2 separate regions of the Homo sapiens genome follow, and region 1 is linked to region 2. Evidence: promoter capture Hi-C in 16 types of primary human blood cells and fetal thymus (Javierre and others, 2016). All regions are on one chromosome and are shown on one strand. Each heading gives the region's core, a stretch centred on a gene start or on the middle of the fragment in contact. The rest is flanking DNA. Distances are from core to core; before and after follow the strand shown. Region 1 has its middle 30 kb from the start of ARK2N. Region 2 holds the start of LOXHD1 (lipoxygenase homology PLAT domains 1).

Evidence for each region. Contacts are between HindIII fragments. The CHiCAGO score rates a contact against its expected background, and 5 or more counts as called.
Region 1: a contact is called between a fragment that was not itself captured here and the fragment with the promoter of LOXHD1 in region 2, in 8 of 17 cell types (total CD8 T cells, neutrophils, total B cells and 5 more). The highest score is 10.3, in total CD8 T cells.

The regions. Positions count from the first base shown.
Region 1 is chr18:46,141,430-46,147,080 of GRCh38, reverse strand. No RefSeq gene overlaps it. Among named protein-coding and RNA genes, the nearest start is that of ARK2N, 30 kb to the left of the region's middle. The HindIII fragment of the contact is 4,189 bases long and covers 1,746-5,651 here.
Region 2 is chr18:46,653,899-46,659,010 of GRCh38, reverse strand. It overlaps LOXHD1 (lipoxygenase homology PLAT domains 1), which reads left to right and starts at 1,791. Exons shown (of 41, transcript NM_001384474.1): 1 at 1,791-2,107. The coding sequence starts at 1,978. RefSeq lists enhancers at 734-783, 594-1,543. The HindIII fragment of the contact is 3,833 bases long and covers 1-3,180 here.

The DNA.
Region 1 (5,651 bases), core at 2,591-5,090, 510 kb after region 2:
CCATTCTAATTTGTGCTGAGATGACTGGGCCTTTTAAAGGCAGAATGACAGAGGAGACAAGTGAGGTCCCGCTAAAGTCAGCGAAAGGAAAAATTGCAAAGGGTTGGTCAGTATCAATGCAATTAGGCCAGCTGTGCCTGCTAGCTGGCAATTATGCAAGTTAGGGATTCTGCCCTTCCACAGCAACTGGGAGACAGAGGGCCTATCCTTTTTTGATGATTATATTTCAAAGGAATGGCTCTCTGGTCCTTGAGAAAGACACTTCTGAATTGGAGGAATTATATATATACCTCAAAGGGAGAAATGAAGTATTCTTAATTTTAAGCCCTTCTTACTAATGCTCTGAGAAACAGGGGGTCTATCATTAGAAGTTTGCTAGAACAAACAGTAGATTCTCCTGGCAGCATCGAGCTTGCTTTCTTTTGTTTTTATGTTCAGTTTTTGTGAGTATATATATTTTGTAAGTATATATGTATGGGGTATATAACATAATTTGATACAGACATACAATGTGTAATATTCACATCAGGGTAAATGGGATATCCATCACCTCAAGCATTTATCCTTTGCATTATGAACAATCCAATTATACTTTTGGTTATTATTATTATTATTTGAGACGGAGTTTTGTTCTTATTGCCCAGGCTGGAGTGAAATGGCACAATCTCAGCTCATCAAAACCTCTGCCTCCTGGGTTCAAGCGATTCTCCTGCCTCAGCCTCCCAAGTAGCTGGGATTACAGGCATGCGCCACCACGCCCGGCTAATTTTGTATTTTTTAGTAGAGACAGGATTTCTCCATGTTGGTCAGGCTGGTCGTGAACTCCCGACCTCAGGTGATCTGCCCACCTCAGCCTCCCAAAGTGCTGGGATTATAGGCATGAGCCATCGCGCACACCTAGTTATTTTATTTATTTATTTGAGACTGAGTCTCACTCTGTCGCCCAGGCTGGAGTACAGTGGTGCAATCTCGGCTCACTCAACCTCCGCTGCCTGGGTTCAGGTGATTTTTCTGCCTCAGCCTCCTGAGTAGCTGGGACTACAGGCACGCGCCACCATGCCTGGCTAATTTTTGTATTTTTAGTAGAGACGGGGTTTCACCATATTGGCCAGGCTGGTCTTGAACTCCTGACCTTGTGATCCGCCCACCTCAGCCTCCAAAAGTGCTGGGATTATAGGCGTGAGCCACTGTGCCTGGCCACTTTTAGTTATTTTATTTTAGACAGGACTCTGGCTCTGTCGCCCACACTGGAGTGCAGTGGCACAATCTTGGCTTATTGCAACCTCCGCTTCCCAGGCTCAAGTGATCCTCCCACTTTAACCTCCTGAGTAACTGAGATCACAGGTACGCACCACTACACTGAGCTAATTTTGTTTTGTTTTGGTAGAGGTGGGCTTTTGCTCTGTTGCCCCTGCTGGTCTCAAACTCCTGGGCTCAAGCAATCTGCCCGCCTCTGCCTCCCAAAGTGCTGGGATTACAGATGTGAGCCACTGCACCCAGCCCAAACTGTGTTTTAAAACTTTGTTTTCTTTCCTCCTTTCTCCCCAATCTCAAGATACAACTGTGAGACAAACTGCGTATGTCTTTCCTTTCATCTTCAAATACAGCTTCGGAATGTGCTGTGAACCTCCAATCCTTTTCTTTTCCTATTCTATGTTCCCAAGCCTTACATATACATATTTACTTAGATGCATGTTAAGCACATACCATACTCACTTATCTGGTCATATATTTCCTTAGAAGCTTCAGGGGCTGGATCCTGATATGGACCAGACACCTCGAGCCACGAAGTCGCCAACCCCCTCACCGGATGGAACAATAATTCAAGACAAGCTGTTGGAGGAGGTCACGCCACCTGACACCTGCTAGCTCCCCTTCCTCTTCTGCATTCCAAACCCTCTGTGTGTGTGTGTGTGTGTGTGTGTGTGTGTGTGTGTGTGTGTGTGACAGGGTCTCACTCTGTCACCCAGGCTGGAGTGCAGTGGCACCATCACCACTCAGTGCAGCCTCTACCTCCTGGGCTCAAGTGATCCTCCCACCTCAGCCTCCCAAGTAGCTGAGAATACAGGTGTGTGCCACCATACCTAGCTAATTTTTGTATTTTTTGTAGAGATGTAGTTTTGCCATGTTGCCCAGGCTGATCTTGAACTTCTGAGCTCTAGTGATCTGCCTGCCTATGCCTCCCATATTGCTGGGATTGTAGGCGTGAGCAACCACACCTGGCCCAAATCCTCTCTTTAAAACCCCCTGCATTCCCTCTACAAATTCAAAAGTAGAATTTTTTTCATTCTTTCCCTTACTGGCATGGATAATAAAGTCTCGCTCTCTTTTTTTTTATCACATCTTGTTATTATTTTGGCTTCTTTTTACACACGGTGAGCAGCCAGACCCTTTTGCCAGTTACAATATCAGGGTTGTGAGATAGATAGATGATTGATAGACAGATAGATAGATAGATAGATAGATAGATAGATAGATAGATAGATAGTTTTTTTTTTCTTGGACTATTCTTCATAACAAAGGGGTGTGATATAATATTAGCTTCCTATAAAAGGAATGTGGCCAGGCACAGTGGCTCATGCCTGTAATCCCAACACTTTGGGAGGCCGGGGTGGGAAGATTGCTGGAAGCCAGGAGTTTGAGACAAGCCCAGGCAACATAGAGAGACCCCATCTCTACAAAAAAAATTAGCCAGGCATGGTGGTGCACGTCTGTCATCCCAGCTACTCTAGAGACTGAGAGAGGAGTATTGCTTGAGCTATGATGGTGACACTGCACTCCAGCCTCTGTAACAGAGAAAAATCCTGTCTCTAAAAACAAAACAAAATAAACAAACAGAAAATGTGAACTGTAGTGGTTAACTTCAGACCTGGTGGGAAAGTATGGCGAAATCTATATTAAGTAAAAATGTAGGCCTATGTGAGTAGATGAATCCTTTTGCAGAGAACAACTAGGAAAGCTGAAAAAATGCAAAGTAAAAAATTGTTTGGGCCCAGTGTGGTGGCTCATGCCTGTAATCTTAGCACTTTGGGAGGCCAAGGCAGGCAGATCACAAGGTCAGGAGATCAAGACCATCCTGGCCAACATGGTGAAACTCTGTCTCTACTAAATACACAAAAATTAGCTGGGCATGGTGGCACACACCTGTAGTCACAGCTACTTGGGAGGTTGAGGCAGGAGGATCACCTGAACCTGGGAGGGGAGGCAGAGGTTGCAGTGAGCCGAGATCGCGCCACTGCACTCCAGCCTGGCAACAGAGCAAGACTCCGTCTCAAAAAAAAAAAAAAAATTGTTTAAAGGTATGAGAGAGCTGCCCAAGCAGCCAGTACTTGAGGGGCTAATGTTCAGAGGGAAGAGAAACTTCTTGAATGAAGCCTCTCTTTGCCCTTGAGGAATGTGCTGATTCATAAATGGTGTAGGATAGGCATGCTGAAAAGCTGAACAAAAACTGGTTGACAAGCTGGGCACAGTGGCTCATGCCTGTAATCCCAGCACTTTGGGAGGCTGAGGCAGCAGGATCACTTGAGCCCAGGAATTCAAGACCAGTCTGTCCAACATAGTGGGACCCCATCTCTATAAAAAGTTAAAAAAATAATAAAAAGAAACATCCAGCCGGGCGTGGTGGCTCACGCCTGTAATCCCAGCCCTTTGGGAGGCTGAGGCGGGCGGATCACGAGGTCAGGAGATCAAGACCATCCTGGCTAACACGGTGAAACCCCGTCTCTACTAAAAATACAAAAAAAAAAAATTAGCCGGGCGCCATGGTGGGTGCCTGTAGTCCCAGGTACTCGGGAGACTGAAGCAGGAGAATGGCGTGAACCCGGGAGGCAGAGATTGCAGTGAGCCGAGATTGCGCCACTGCACTCCAGCCTGGGCGACAGAGCGAGATCACCTCAAAAAAAAAAGAAAAAAAAAAAGAAACATCCAGACTGAAGGAGGAAAAGACAATGGGGAAAAAGAGGAGAGAAAAAGAGGGTGGAAAATAGAGAAAAGAGTGCAAAATATCTACTGAAGACAGTGAGAAAGTCTAACATCTAGGTCATTGGAGGTATGAGAAACAAGGAGGAAAAGAATGGAGCAGAGGCAATACTTAAAGAGATAATGCTGATTTTTTTCCAAAGAGATGAAATAAGTCAAGCTATTAATACAAGGAGTTCTATGAACCCTAATTAGGAGAGGTTAAAAAAGAAAAATTCACCTAGCATGTCATAGGATTGCTGAAAACCAAAGAGAGAGAGACAATCTTAAAAATGACCACAGAATGGCCAGGCACAGTGGCTCACACCTGTAATCCCAGCACTTTGGGAGGCCAAGGCGGGTGGATCACCTGAGGTCAGGAGTTCCAGACCAGCCTGGCCAAGATGGTGAAATCCCGTCTCTACTAAAAATACAAAAATTAGCCAGGCACGGTGGCAGGCACCTATAATCCCAGCTACTCAGGAGGCTGAGGCAGGAGAATCAGTTGAACCGGGCGGCAGAAGTTGCAGTGAGCCGAGATCATGCCACTGTACTCCAGCCTGGGCAATAAAGTGAGACTCTGTCTCAAAACAACATGAATAACAACAACAACAAAAACACAGAAAAAAATACACTTACTTAAAAATAAACAATGTTAGTTTGGTGGACAGATGATTTCTTGGCAGAAATTTTATGTAGTGGACAGACTCAGAGTGGTCCCCACGAGCCTTGCCTCCTGGTGTTCATGCCTTTGTGTGATTTTTCCCTCTTGTGTGGAGACAGGGCCTGTGGCCTGCTTCTAACCAATAGAATAAGGCAGGCCACTTGTGGTGGCTCAATATCTGTGATCCTAGCACTTTGGTGGGTGGATTACTTGAGGCCAGGAGTTTGAGACCAACCTGGGCAACATAGTAAGACTGCGTGTCTACAAAAAAAAAAAAAAAAAAAAAAAAAATTAGGCTGGTTGCAGTGGCTCACGCCTGTAATCCTAGCACTTTGGGAGGCCAAGGCAGGAGAATCGCTTCAGCTTAGTAGTTATGTTTTTAGTTTTTATTTTTTGAGACGGAGTCTCACTCTGTTGCCCAGGCTGGAGTGTAGTGGTACAATCTCAGCTCACTGCAACCTCCGCCTCCTAGGTTCAAGTGATTCTCCTGCCTCAGCCTCTTGAGTAGCTGGTATTACAGGTACGCGCCACCATGCTTGGCGAGTCTTCGTATTTTTAGTAGAGGCAGGGTTTCACCATGTTGGCCAGGCTGGTCGCTGGTCTTAAACTCCTGACCTCAAGTGATCCACCCATCTCGGCCTCCCAAAGTGCTGGGATTACAGGCGTGAGCCACCAAGCCTGTTCTGAGCTCAATAGCTCAAGACCAGCCTGGGCAACACAGTGATACCTTGTCTCTATTAAAAAAAATTATTTTTTAATTAGCTGGGCATGGTGGTGCTTGCCTGTAATTCCAGCTACTTGGGAGAGTGAGGTGCTATGATTGTGCTACTGCACTCAGGCCTGGATGACAGAATGAGACCCTGTCTCTCAAATCTCTTTTAAAAAAAAAAAAGGTAAAGGTGACAAGATGTATGTGATTATGTGCATGTGACTACGTGAATTACAAGATTACATGATTGTGTTACAGAGGATCATAACACTTGTCTTACTGGAGTCTCTCCTCCTTTGCTGACTTTGAGGAACAAGGAGC
Region 2 (5,112 bases), core at 542-3,041:
CCTTGAAATAATACAGAAATAATATAGAATTATTTCCCTGACCTCCTAGCCAGTGTGTTCCAGTACCATGGGATTCTCTAAAAATATTTTGATTTCAGCTTTTAAAGTTCTAAGAAACAGCCGGGCGCGGTGGCTCACGCCTGTAATCCCAGCACTTTGTGAGACCGAGGTGGGCAGATCTCGAGGTCAGGAGTTCGAGACCAGCCTGACTAACATGGTGAAACCCTGTCTCTACTAAAAATACAAAAATTAGCTGGGCATGGTGGCGTATGCCTGTAATCCCAGCTACTCGGGAGGCTGAGGCAGGAGAATCACTTGAACCCGGGAGGCGGAGGTTGCAGTGAGCCGAGATCACACCACTGCACTCCAGCCTGGGCGACAGAGGGAGACTCCGTCTCAAAAAAAATTCTAAGAAACGTTTTATTATCTTTTCCCTGAATGGGTACTCGTGTAAAATGAGTTTTCTTAGTAGATTCCTAGAGATCCTTAAGGAAGGTCTCTTCCTGAAGAATCCAGGTGTGTAAACCACATATTGCCAGAAGGGGGCGCGCGCCACCCACCATTAAACTTCACTCCTGGTCCTCAGAGGACTTTGAGCTGCTTCAAGGGCGGCCCCTCAGCTGAATAGGGGAAGAGGGGAGGTTGATCTTTCCTGGGTAGGAACGTTCGGGGTTAGAGATGCCTCCCCCTAGTGGAAGATTTGGATGGCTCCAAAGAGCAGGGCAGGACCAAAGCTGCCCCAGGCTGCCGGGGAGGCCTGTGAGTGCCGACTGCTCCTCAGGCGTCCGCTCCAAATCCTCTCTTCCTCTCCACCTGAAATTCCCCTTTAGAGTCACTATTTTGGCTTAGAGGACAAAATCACACGTGTTGCTTCTAGAGGACTCCTGTTAGCACACCTAAGTTACCTGAGAAGCGATTCAGGGACCCTCAACATGGCTGCACATGAAAGTCACCAGGAGCTTTAAAAACTGGGGCCCAAGCTGCGTCCCAAACCAAGCAAATCAGAATCCTTGGGGATGGGACCCACGCATTAGCGTTCAACACCTCTCTGGGGGCTTCTGGTGTGCAGCCCGGGCTGTGCGCCCTGGGGTAGGAGCTTGCTGATGCCCTCCCGTGAGTCCAGGTGGTGAGCTGATCTAGTTAGTGAGTTCACCTGGGAGGGCATCGGCTACGATGATGTTTAAACTTTAGTGCATATAAAGCTCACCTGGCAGGGGGAGCGGGGAGAGTTTTCTGGTGCCCTAGCTTTCCTCGTGCCCAGAGGCCACTTCCGGAAGCCCGCAGTCTTGATGAGATGGAAGCAGAGAGAGAGAACGAGAAGGATCCAGCGAGAACCCCGCCTGCTCCGTAAGACGATCAGAGGTCATGAATAATGGAGAGAAACGGGGGCCTTTGAGTCCTGGGAGCCTGGCTGATTCCGGGGCCCCGCCTTCCTCAGGAGGGTCCCGTGTGGGCTGTAAGGCTTGGGAGATCTCCTGGGTGAGGAGCCCTCACCTGTCCCTGGGGTGGCCTGGAGGGATCCCAGGTGACCCCCTGGCTGTGAGGCCAGGTGGGAAATGGACTTCAAGGGCTCCGTGTCACCTGATTCTCCATAGGGAGGAGAGAGGGCTGGTGGGGAGGGGAGAGAGGAAGGAAGTCAGCCTGCCCTCAGCGCCATGAATAAGTGATGAGGCCCAAAGAGAAGCCCCGGGGCAGGTACAGAGGAGGAGGAGGTGGCTCACCAGAGGGTGGTGGGAGGGGACAGGGACAGGAGGTTCAGAGATAAGGCACTGAGGTTCAGCTCAGGAGCCAGAGAAGGCAGAGGGAACAGCACCTTGGGCACGGGGAAGCCAAGAAAACGGGGCACTCTGGCCCACCCAGGCCTGAGCTATAGGAGGGCCGTGGGCGCCAGAGCTCAGGGAGGAGGTCTCAGGTTCCCGCAGGTGTGAGGAGGCGGCACAGTGAGCCTGCGAGCGCTGGGAGAAGGCAGCCGACAGAATGATGCCCCAGAAGAAAAGGCGGAGGAAGAAGGACATCGACTTCCTGGCCCTGTACGAAGCGGAGCTGCTGAACTACGCCTCGGAGGACGACGAGGGGGAGCTGGAACACGAGTACTACAAGGCCAGAGGTGCGGGGTCCCAGCCTGCGGGGGGCGGGTGGTGCAGCTGGCTGCGGTGGGCAGGGGTCTGTTCCTGTCTATGGGGAGTCATTCTAAGATTTCGGAGCAAGCCCTTCCTCACTGATTATCCCATGTGTCTGTTCCATATCCCCTCGGAGTAAGAAGGCAGGCATTATGCAGGGATGGTGGGGTCCCTGTTGTACAGACAGGTGGAGCAACTTGCCTTTAGCCCCCGATTCTCAGTGGAACAGAATAGACTAGAGCCACAGTGCCCCCATGGCCCCATGTTCTCCAGCTCCTGAACATCCCCAAAGCCACGTTCCAGTCTGGTCCCCGAGTAGGTGGTCTGCATCAGGCAGAGCGCCCTGAACTGCTGGGGTCATGAAAGGATGTCTTGGGGAGGAAGCCTGACAGCTCATCCTATGCCCACTGTGGTTGATGGAGACAGGGAGCCTGGGGCTTTGCAAGGAGATGTCCATCCCATATGTCGAAGGCGGCCGGTGCTCTGGACCCCAGGGCCTTGTCCTTCTAGTCTCATCTTTCCCTGGGCCACATGAGACCTGCTTGAAATTGCTCTAACTCCTTGCCAGGTAAACCAAAGAAGTGAACTGTGACCCTAGAGCTGGTTTTGGCCAGCAGAGTTTAAGTTGTTTTTTTCCTTTCCAGCGTTTTGAAATCCTTTTTTCTGTGAATGCCAATAGGCTGTGGACGTCCAGCTTATCACAGTCTCCACCACTCCCTGTCATCTCATACTAGGTCTGGTTTACTCATCAGTGCTGCCTGCCTAGTCTCTGAAGCCATTTAAATTCTCAATGCTGACTCCAAAGTGGCTCACCAGTCCCCGTAAGCGCCATAGTCATCCATGCATTCACTCATTCATTCATTCAGCAAGTATTTATTGAATGTGTGCTCTGTGCCTGCCCATGGCCTTGTTTGTCTTCCCCTTTCTCCCTCTTCCTGTCCTCACTCTGAAAGCCCAGTTCTGATCCCATCTCTTCCATGAAGCCCTCCTTGATTCCAGTCCACCATGAGTTCCCTGATTACATCCAATTCATAATTGTTCCATTGTTTCCTGCAAAGCTTGTCCAGCTGTGTCCGGCTTGCAGCCACAGTCACCCTAAACTCCGTGAGGGTGGGGCCTTGCTGTACTTGTCTTTAGTCCTCATCATTCAGCCCCTGCACAGTCCTGGGCTTAGAGGAGGTAGTCTCAGCTGAGATCAGGAAGGCTGTGGCCCCTTTCCAGGTACAGAATCCTGGGTACCTCCAAGGGTAGAAGGGGGGGCTGTAGTAGGAGGAAGTGGGCCCAGGAAAAAGGAAGCATCCGCCACCTTCTAACAGTACATGTGCCTCAAGCTCTGACCCTCTTGTGAGGGGAGGGGCTGGGAGGTGAGACATCAGGGCAGCATCCCCACCATGTGTGCTTGGCTTCCCAGGTGATTCTCCCCAGCCACGTGACTGTTGGTGAGATCATTCTAGAACCTCTCACAGCCAGCAGCACACTGTTGACTTCTGTTTACGGGCTCTGCATGCCTCAGTGTGGCCATAATGATCGTTCTCCTTTTTATCCTTTCAGAAGCCTTTTTACTAATGTTCTCATGTTTGATCCTTAAGATCCCTGAGCACAGTCAAGGCAGGCGGATCAGCACCACTTCACAAGTTAAAGACTGAGGCCCTGAGACATTAAGTGACTTGAGCAAGGTCACAAACAGGATGGACAACAAGAACCTCAAATATCTTTTTCGAGGCAAGCGCCCCATTTCATCTCATGATGCTGCCAAATAGGATCATGCACCATGCACCAGGCACTGAGTTAAGCACTTTATTCATGTTAACTAATTTCATCTTCATGATGACACATTGCAGCAGATGTGTTATCCTTTTTTTTCAGATGAGGAATCTGAAGCACAGAGAAGTTAAGTAACTTGCCCAAGATCACACAGCTAGCAAATAGCAGAGTTAGGATTTGAATCCAGCTGGTCTGGCTGGTCCTTGGTCTTGTACTGCCCGATTTTGACTGTGGTAAAAATAGCTGGAGAAGAGCAAGTGGAGGTGGGTGCCACGCTGACATTTCTAAGGGAACCATGGATTCTCCTGTCTGTTGCAGGGTACTGCCTATAAATGTGGATGATGCTAACGGTGGTCACATGCTGAGCTCCAGCTGTACTGTCATTGTCACCCTCTCAGTGCTAGAACAACGGTTCCCCCACTTCCTTTGAACTCTGGGCTCTGGTGTTACGTGGAGAGTCTTGATGAGTGTGATGGGGAGGAAGAAGGAGGGAAGAAAAGCCTAGGTGTTCCTTCTCTCTTCTTAGGCTACCTTCTGGCTACCCTGGGATTCCCCAATAACCAGAGGGAGGAGAGCAGCTCCCTCAATGCTTTGAGGGCAGGCTGAACGTGGCACATTGCTCTCTCTCCTAAGACAGGGCCCATGATGGGAAGAATAACTCATTCCAGAACTGGAGAGTAGAAGGGGGCCTCAGAGGCCACCCTGCACAGGCTTCCAGCCCCGGAGGCATCTCCTCTCCTGCATCCTAGACAGGAGTCCCCCAGCATCTGTTGGGATGCAATTTTCCAAGGCAGCTTCCTTGGGGATGTTGTCAATGGAAATGATAGCAATGATTTCTCTCTTAGTCCATTGGTGCTGCTATGCCAGAATACCTGAGACTGGTGATTTATAAAGAACATATTTTTTTTTCTTCCTCAAAAATTCTGGAGGCTGAGAAGTCCAAGATCAAGGTGCCAGTATCTGGTGAGAACTTTCTTGCTGTGTTCCCACATGGCAATAGGCAGAAGGACAAGCCCCTTTATAACGGCACCCAATCCCTTTCACGAGGGGGAAGCTCTCATGGCCTAATCACCTCTTAAAGGCCCCACCCCTTAATACTATCACAATGGCAACACCTGAATTTTGGAGGGGACATATTCAAACTATAGCAATGGTGATGATGATGATAGTAACCACTTATGAAATGCCTATCTTTTCATGCAACTGTGGAAGAATGCCTATAAGGTAA